Linked DNA regions of Homo sapiens: all the other regions are linked to region 1. Evidence: promoter capture Hi-C in 16 types of primary human blood cells and fetal thymus (Javierre and others, 2016). All regions are on one chromosome and are shown on one strand. The core of a region is centred on a gene start or on the middle of the fragment in contact, and the rest is flanking DNA. Distances in the headings are between cores, read along the strand shown. Region 1 holds the start of GIMAP6 (GTPase, IMAP family member 6). Region 2 overlaps REPIN1-AS1 (REPIN1 antisense RNA 1). Region 3 overlaps LOC107986858 (a long non-coding RNA gene).

Region 1 (3,174 bases), core at 218-2,717:
ACTCCTGTCCCCTTTCCCATGACAGCAATGTGTCCTGGCTTCATAGACTAACACAGTTCTCTGTGCCAAGATCCCATAAGGTTCTCTCTGCTGGATTTTCTCTGTGGGACTGAGGAGGAAGTTGCATGGTCCATGACTGTTTTTCCAGATCATGTAGGACATTCACAACCAGATGAAACAGATCCAGATGAAGGGTCTGGGGTGTGGGGAAACCTAAGTCCAGGGGAACCTGATAGACATGTTTTTCTCATTGCCACATTGTTAGATGTTTGTTCTATTCTGTTCACCTGGCAAACACTCCAGTCCTCCCCAGATCCCAGAAGTATATATGCGGATATTGCTTTATGATTGGTAAAGATCAATTTTGCAGTGCTGGGCTGGGCATGGAGGGAGTCCAGGAAGGTCTGTTGACTTTCTAGGAAGAAAGAAGAAGCAGGCCAGGCGGACAGCCTTACTCAGACCTGAACAGCCAGATTCTGGAAGGAGTACAATATTTCACCTACCAAAGGGAGTTAGTTCTTCCTAACTGGTGGCCTCTCAATCTCTTTGTCCCTGGCTTCCTTACATCCCTGGTGGAAATTGAGGCAGCACTTTACCAATGTAATCTCATTCCTCCTTTAGAGAGAACGGGCAGGCAGCTTAACAGGAAACAACAGCCGGGTGGGACTAGGCTGTGGCATGCAGGAACCTGCACTGTGCCTTCGCAGGGTTCGGGGAATGGGTCTGCACGCAAGGCACCTCCCTGCCTCCTCCTAGACCCTCCCCGGAATGGCACCTCCCATGTTGGCCACAGTGTGCATTGTCTCCAACACAGAAGATGGAACAGATAGTACCATCCTTGTCATATTGCTCTGGAAGAAAGCAAAACTCAGAGAAGCATCTTGCCAAATATTAAACAGTGACTTTGTCACAAGGCAAAAAGTTCTCCAGACGTGTTGGTCACAGCTCTTTTTATCACATTACAAACCTGCACACACCACAGCACACACAAATACACAACACACACACATACACAAAACACATGTACCACTCACACACATGCAGGTGAACACACAAACACATACACAAACACAAATATACATACACAACACACACACAACACTCACATACACACACAACACAAACATCACACACACAAACATCACTCACACACATTCATGTTAACACATACAAACATGTAAACACACATGTACAACACAAACACCCACACATACACATCCAAATATGACACGCACAAATACTCAGACTTACCTCTGCACCAGCTCACAGGCAAGAGAAAGGACCACGTTTCTGGTCTCCCGGCCACGCACTCTCACGGAGGAGGCAGAGAAAAGCTTCCACAGTGTATGAACACAAGGAGGACAAGGCCGATGTTTGCTTATATTTTCAGCAAAATGTTTTCAGAGAGCTGGGCTGGAGACCTGCCCTTGAAAGAGCAGTGTCCGCTGGAGATGGAGGAACAGGAAGTGGGTAGGAGCACCGGCCTTCCTGAGTCAGAAGAGTCTGCTGTTGCACTTTGCAGCCTCGGAAGTAGAAAAAGGGAGGATACCAGTGGTGGGATTATTTTTATCCTGAGCCAGGATAACTAGAACTCAGAGCTTAAAAAGAGGCAGATGCCTCAGAAAGATTTGTGTCAGGAGGAGTGACTTTCCCTGATCTCTCTTTTCTGAACCCCACCTCTTCCCCAGGGAACTTCTATGCCTCAGTATTGGGGCAAACAGTCATTGTCTCCTTTCTTCCCCAACCTCTCCTTCCTTTAATAGTTTCTCTCAGGACAAGGTCTGACACTCATTACCTCTAAGGCATGAATCATTGGTAATTACAATTGTTACAGCTTCTAGAAGATCTGCACTATAAGAAAAGGGAAAATACAAAAGAATGTCTAAAATGTAGGATTAAAGAGAGCACTTGTTATGGGGGAAGAACAATATTTTAAACACAGGCCAAGGGAGAAAACACCTCAGCATCCTCAAAAACATGTTTTCTAGGACTTTACTGACAGATCTGATAACTGTGGCTAAAGGGAAGCCATTGAAGGAAGAAATTCAGAACATAGGAGCATAGGTGATGATATTGTTACCACATGATTTTAAAATGTTAAGATTCCCTAAAAAAATTCCACTCAATCTACTATAATAGTTCTAATTTTCTTTGGTTCTGTTCTGGTTGATAATCATGGTGTATTTATTAAAATTGTTACATAGTATGTGTGTGTGTACATATATATATCTTTTAATGTTCTACTTAAATTATTCTGTAAATACCCTGACACAATTAATTTTTTTTTTTTGAGACAGAATGTCATCCTGTCACCCAGGCTGGAGTGCAGTGGTGTGATCTCAGTTCACTGCAACCTCATCCTCCCAGGTTCAAGCGATTCTCATGCCTCAGCCTCCCAAATAGCTGGAATTACAGGCGTCCGCACACCCGGCTAATATTTTGTATTTTTAATACAGACGGGGTTTTACCATGTTGGCCAGGTTGGTCTCAAACTCCTGACCTCAAGTTATCTGCCCACCTCGGCCTCCCAGAGTGTTGGGATTATGGGCGTGAGCCACCGCGCCTGGTGTAACATGATTAATTCTTTTTTTTTTTTTTTTCTCGAGACGGAGTCTCGCTCTGTCGCCCAGGTTGGAGTGCAGTGGTGCGGTCTTGGCTCACTGCAAGTTCCACCTCCTGGGTTCACGCCATTCTCCTGCCTCAGCCTCCTGAGTAGCTGGGACTCCAGGTGCCCACCACCACGCCCAGCTAATTTTTTGTATTTTTAGTAGAGATGGGGTTTCACTGTGTTAGCCAGGATGGTCTCGATCACCTGACCTCATGATCTGCCCACCTCGGCCTCCCAAAGTTCTGGGATTACAGGTGTGAGCCACCACGCCCAGCCACTTAATTAATTCTTAAAAGTCATGTGTTGATCTTTACCATTCCATTGCCTAAGTGTTTAGAAAGTATTTAGAATGTTATTACTCCACCCATAATTGAAATTAACCATCTATTTTGAATTTTAATCATTTCCATCTTCTGCAAGCTGACTCTGGAGAGTTGCCCAGACCTGCAGTTGACTGAGCCAGGGATCAATCAGCTCAGCGTTTAGCCATGAGAATTGGGAAGTGTTTGTTACTGCAAGGTAATCTGGCCTAATCTAATTGATACAGCATATAAATCTGATGTTGG
Region 2 (2,862 bases), core at 322-2,821, 270 kb before region 1:
TGTGGTGGTGCATGCTTGTAGTCCCAGCCACTCGGGAGGCTGAAGCAGAAGAACCACTTGAACCCAGGAGTTTGAGGCTGCAGTGAGCATCACTGTACTCCCGTATGGGTGACAGAGTAAGACTCTGCCTCTAAAAAATAATAAAAATATAAAATAAAATAAAATAAAATAAAAGATTTGCATATATCTCACATGGGCAGAGGAAAATTCACAATCACAAGCTTTCTAATGCAAATGTGCTGAGAAAAGGGGGTGTTGGTGAGGAGCATCTCTGCCTTTTTTCACCAGGGAGAAAGAAAACTTATTTTTATTCTTTTTGATTTGTATTTGCTTTTACAATTCTCCTGGCTATCTGGGTAATTACATGTGTCTTTGTGTTGGCGGGGGTACAGGGGGAGATTCAGCTGCAGCACAGGCCGGCAAAGTGACAAGTGTAGCAAGATGCTGCGCTGAGGGCTTGGGAGACAGAGGGAGGGGCCTCGAGCCCAAGAATGCCTGGGAAGCAGCTCTTCCAGCCAGAAAAGGCAAGGAAGGATTCTCCCCTAGAGACTTTGGAGGGAGTGGGGCCCTGCCGACACCTTGACTTTGGCCCAGTGAAACATTCTGGGCTTCTGACTTCCAGCCGTGTAAGATAATAAATGCCAGTTATTTCAGGCCGAGCTGGTGGTCATTTGTTAGAGCAGTCCTAGGAATCTCATCTAGGTGTGAAGCTATTTTAGAGGGGTTTGTTGGGAAGCGTGTTTTGAGGCGAGGAGACTTCAGCCAAAATCTGAATACAGTGAAGAACGGAAGTCCATGCGGACCTGGAGGAGGATCGTCTAGGCAACTCCAAAGGCCCTAAGGTGGAAATGAGTGGCGGCTGCTGGGGCAGTGTCTGGCAGGCGCATGGAGGTCTGCAGGAACCCTGCAGGCCATGGCCGCGGGTTGGATGTCAGTCCAAATGTTAGCAGGAGGCGTCGGAGTTCCCTAGCAAGGGAGCTGCTTGATCTGATTCATGTTTAAAGGGCCAAGCTGGTTAAGTGGAGACAGGACTTTATGGGGCCAGAGCGGAGGCAGGAGGAGTGGCTGGCCACTGCTGCAGAGTCCTGGTGAGGGAGACTATGGTGCAGGGGTGGGGGATAAGGGTGGGAAGCAGGCCTCACCGTTATGGGGCACACGCATGTACCAGTTTCCTCTGCAGGAAATCTGAGCCATCTACCTGATACTCATTTTACCAGCTGGATTCTTTTTTCTTTTAGCAAGAGACTCTGGGAACTAGATATGCGGCAGGAAAGCATCTTGTGTGGTGGAATTTGGGGACTGACATTTGATCTCAGCCCAGGGCTACTCTTACAGCGTGCGTCCCTGTCGTGCATTATACATGTTTTCATGCACTTAAAGATATTTTTAGAACTGCAGAAGTAGAAGCACTTTGATCTTTTCCTGAATAATTTTCACATGACTTAGCAGGCCTCCTTCCACCTGAGATGGGAAACCTTGGAAAGTGAGGGGGCCTTCTTCAGTGTGTGCCACTGTAGGGGTTTTTCCTCAGCCCCCCTAGATTTGTGGTTGGAACGGACTCCTGTTACAAAAGACAGATTAACAAGAGAAAAACCAGTGGAAGTTTATTAACATGTGTATTTCACATCTGCCTGGGAGACACGCAGGAATTGAGTAGTTCTCAAAGTGGTAGCTTTGAATTCCAGCTTGTATAGCATCTTCAACAAAGAAAAGCCAAGTTTTAGGGAAGCGACAGGACAAAGGAAAAGAACTTTGAGTGTCTAAGGGGAGAACTTGTAGAAAGGTAAGTAACTGGCAGATAAATAGAGTTAGTAAAGCGCCTTCATGTCCATTCCTCTGGTTCCAGCTCCAGGCCCATAAGAGTCTAAAGTTGTCTTCAGTGGTTAACTTTTCCCTGGTCGAGAGAGGGAGCAGACCCCTTTTATCCTTCTAAATCTATATCCTGCATTTAGGCAGTGGAGGGCAGAGAGCTTTCTTCCATTTACTTTTTCACTGCCTTCAAGCTCAACAACCCTTCATCTTTCGGGGCCTCCCCAACTGCGTTCTCTTGGTGCTCTCCAGCTGGGAAGGCTCAAAGGATGGGAAGTGTGTACAGCACGTACCTGTGACTGCTACCAGAGATTTGCCCCTCCTCAGGGTCAGTGAGGGATGTGCTTTCTGCTTCCTCCCCAGACTGCAAACCCCTGGAAATTAGCTGCGTGAGAGTCTTGCATATTTGCCGTAGGGATGCGGCAGGAGGTAACGGAGATGATAGTCAAGGGAAGGTTCATTAGAGCAAATTGATCCTCAGTCTCCTCCAGCTTTCCACAGTCATCCATCCAGAAATTATCAACAAGCGCTTGTTTTTATTTTGTAGTAGGTACCAAACCAAGAGTTATTTCCGTAGTTAAATAAGCGTTAAAAGTCTTCTCAGCACCCTCTCACATTGTGGGAAAACTGCACAGACCACCTCTGCCTGACTCATGATGAGGCCGGGCACCTGGCACAGTGGCAGATGGTGGGCACTGATTAAATATTTGTTGGATGTATGAGCAAGTCCTGTGGGGGGAGCTGGAACTGTATGTCTGCAAGAAGTGGGTGCAGTTTTCCCTCTTCCAGATACAGGGCCACTTCTGAACAATACTTGGGTGTCTTCACAGAGGATTTCTGGAGACACTGTTCCTGTCACCCCCTGGCATGCCAGCCCACTTTGCATCTAATCTGATAATGGGAGCCAGGCACTGTTGGAGGGGAAAATTGATCCTCCCAGGGGCCCTATCAATATTCGCTGTCCAGTGGGCCCCTTCCTGTCCAGCCCTTTCTCCGGCTAGCTTGTCAAAAGCTGAGACCGTCTCCACTGGGCTAGGCCATTGGGCCATTTGG
Region 3 (2,917 bases), core at 41-2,540, 290 kb before region 1:
TGCAGAGCACTCATAGGTGTGGATGTGTGAAAGGACTACTTAGGGCATATTCATGAGCTCAGCTCCAGGTAACATGTCCCAGTCCAGGGGAGCAACAACAGGACTTCACTATTTAATGATGGTTAATGATCTTCCTGGTCATGACAGCTAAAAAAGTAGACTCACGTATCCAGTTGTTCCAAGCTTAGTTTTCCAATAACTGAACTGAGTACCAAAAAACATTGTCCTTTAATATTTGCAACCACATTGACAAAAATAGTTTTTTTTAGAAGAAGTGATTTGACTTTGAAGTAAGAGCATATCAGTTGCAAAACTACACCTATTGAAGTTAAGTACATTTTCCAACTTGTGTCAATTCGGTACCATTAGCATAAATTCAAAAATGATATTGCATAAATTCAAAAGCCATTCTAAATTTATCAATATCAACTAAGAATTCTTCACATTTTTCTTGAAATTTTGCCAATTTACACAATGCTGTATATTACAATTAAAACCTCTGTATGTTGATTCTTGTGACAAAAGTATGTAGATTGTAATTATTTGTCAGTATTATGAAAATATTTAATTTGAAATGCTTATATTTATCTGGCTAGGTCACAAATGAGGTTTCATCTCCTTGGATATTCAAATTTAGCCCATTTATATGTAGTGTGGTATTGGTGAGAAAACACTGACTTTTTTATTTTTAATTATTGAATATTTGGGTTGAGAGTAGTGACTCATGCCTGTAATCCTAGCACTTTGGGAGTCCAAGGTGGGTGGATCACTGAACCCAGGAGTTCAAGACCAGCCTGGGCAATATAGAGAGAGGCTATCTTTACAAAAAAAAAAAAGTTTAATTAGCTGAGTGTGGTGGCAAAAGTCTGTAGTCCTGGCTACTCAGGAGGCTGGCGGGGGACGATCACTTGAGCCTGGGAAGTCAAGGTTGCAGTGAGCTATGATCATGCCACTACATGACCCTCCCACCTCAGCCTCCCAAAGTGTTGGGATTATAGGCTCAAGCCACCACTCTCAGACTTGGCCACAGAGCAAAACCTTGTCCCCAAAACAAATAATAATAATACTTATTGTTGTATATTTGGTAATCATGGCTTCTGTCTCAAGAAAATCTTGGAGTTAGTTAAAAGTACAGTAAATCTTAGGAGAACTCTTCTACAACCCTGACAATGAGCTTTGGTAAAGAAAAGATCATTAAATTCATTATCTTTCATTGCTTTCAACAGTTCCATAAAACCAGCAGTGATTCATAGCATTTCCACTTAAATACGGAATTAGTTTTAATGGCTGTAGCCATGAGACTTGCATAGAATAAATTTCAGAAAACTGAGCACAAATATCTTCAATATGTACCCTAAAGTGAAATGAAGCAACATTGGAAGCATCAATCTCTTGTTTTAGCATTCCAATAAATACCTCAGTCACACCAGCCACATGGCAAGTGTTCCTAAACCTGTGGCTGGTGGCTACCATATTGGATATTGCAGGCAGAGCATGTGTTACCAATTATGTGAGTAAAAACTAAAACTAAAAATGAACAAATTTTTGTGTTTGTAAATGCATGGAATATTTCTAGAAGGGAAAAACAAGAAACTTATAACAGTGTTTGCCTGTGAGGAGAGGATCTGTCCAGCTGGGGAAAACAGAGGCAGGAAAACTGTACTCCCTTTGTACTTTTAAATTTTTATAACTTGTGGATAATTTGTCTATTAAAATATAAAAAAACTTTAAAAACTATTTTTTGAGACAGGGTCTTGCTCTGTCGTTCAAGCTGGAGAGCAGTGGCTCAATCATGGCTCACTGCAGCCTCAACCTCCTGTGCTCAAGCGATCCTCCCACCTCAGCCTCCCAAGTAGCTTGGACCACAGGTGCATGCCATCATCCTAGGCTAATTTTTGTATTTTTTTCTAGAGACAGGATTTTGTCACATTGCCCAGGCTGATCTCAAACTTCTAGGTTCAGCAATCCACCCACCTTGGACTCTCAAAGTGCTGAAATTACAGGCTTGAGCCACTGTGCTTGGCCTTAATACTTTTAAAATCAGAAAGCAAAGCAACAGCTTTTCTTTTGTCTTCTTTTCTTTTCTCTTTTTTTGAGACAAAGTCTTATTCTGTTGCCCAGGCTGGAGTGCAATGGCATAATCAGAGCTCACTGCAGCCTCCATGTTCTAGGCTCTATTGATCTTCCTGCCTCAGCCTCCCAGTAGCTAGAACTACAGGACCACCTCACCCAGCTAGTTTTTATTATTATTATTTTTTTTTTCAGGAGAGAGGAGGTTTTGTTTTGTTGCCCAGGCTGGTCTTGAACTTCTGAGCTCAAGTGATCCTCCTACCTTACCTTTCCAAACTGCTGAGATTACAGGTGTGAGCCACCGCGCCTGGTCCCAATAGCATTTCTGAAAGCTTACTCTGGCTGCTGTGTGGAGAGTGGATAAAAGGGAATAAATCTCAGCAGGAGATAATTGTGATTGTCCGGGTGAGAGACGAATGTGGCAGGGACAAAACTGGAGGCAGTGAAGATGGGAAAACAAAGTCCAGAAATACCTCAGGACTAAAGCACCAGGGTTTGGTGATTGATAAGATGTTGGGGTCGAGGTCAACAGAGAGGGGTGAATCCCAGGTTTCTGGCTTGAACAGCTGTAGACATGGTTTTGATCCTCAGGGAGAGAGAGACTCAGGAGGGCAGTGAGGAGAGAAGTGTGAGGTGTCTGTGGAACATGCCAGTGGAGATGTTGACTGAACAGGGCTGGTGGAGCTCTGGCTACAGATGGGAAACTGTGTTATCTGCATGCAGATCGAGATCAGAGCAGAGATGAGACTGGGGATTGGAGAAGGAAGTAGCTTGCCCTGGCGGTAGGAGGGTGAGGAGGGAAGAGGTTAGGACCTCACTGGGAGGGGATCCAACATGGAGTAAGAGG

Evidence for each region. The method cuts DNA at HindIII sites, captures the fragments that hold promoters and counts their contacts. A CHiCAGO score of 5 or more calls a contact.
Region 2: a fragment that was not itself captured here is called in contact with the fragment with the promoter of GIMAP6 in region 1 in 2 of 17 cell types (activated CD4 T cells and non-activated CD4 T cells); the score reaches 6.6 in activated CD4 T cells.
Region 3: a fragment that was not itself captured here is called in contact with the fragment with the promoter of GIMAP6 in region 1 in 1 of 17 cell types (neutrophils); the score reaches 7.4 in neutrophils.

The regions. Positions count from the first base shown.
Region 1 is chr7:150,630,918-150,634,091 of GRCh38, forward strand. GIMAP6 (GTPase, IMAP family member 6) reads right to left here and starts at 1,468. Exons shown (of 3, transcript NM_024711.6): 1 at 1,252-1,468. RefSeq lists enhancers at 879-958, 1,229-1,318, 1,329-1,418. The HindIII fragment of the contact is 8,992 bases long and covers 1,333-3,174 here.
Region 2 is chr7:150,361,080-150,363,941 of GRCh38, forward strand. It overlaps REPIN1-AS1 (REPIN1 antisense RNA 1), which reads right to left. Exons shown (of 4, transcript NR_183429.1): 4 at 1,579-2,862. Among named protein-coding and RNA genes, the nearest start is that of REPIN1, 6.3 kb to the right of the region's middle. The HindIII fragment of the contact is 2,705 bases long and covers 220-2,862 here.
Region 3 is chr7:150,343,880-150,346,796 of GRCh38, forward strand. All of the region lies in intron 2 of LOC107986858 (a long non-coding RNA gene), which reads left to right. Among named protein-coding and RNA genes, the nearest start is that of RARRES2, 3.7 kb to the left of the region's middle. The HindIII fragment of the contact is 2,219 bases long and covers 182-2,400 here.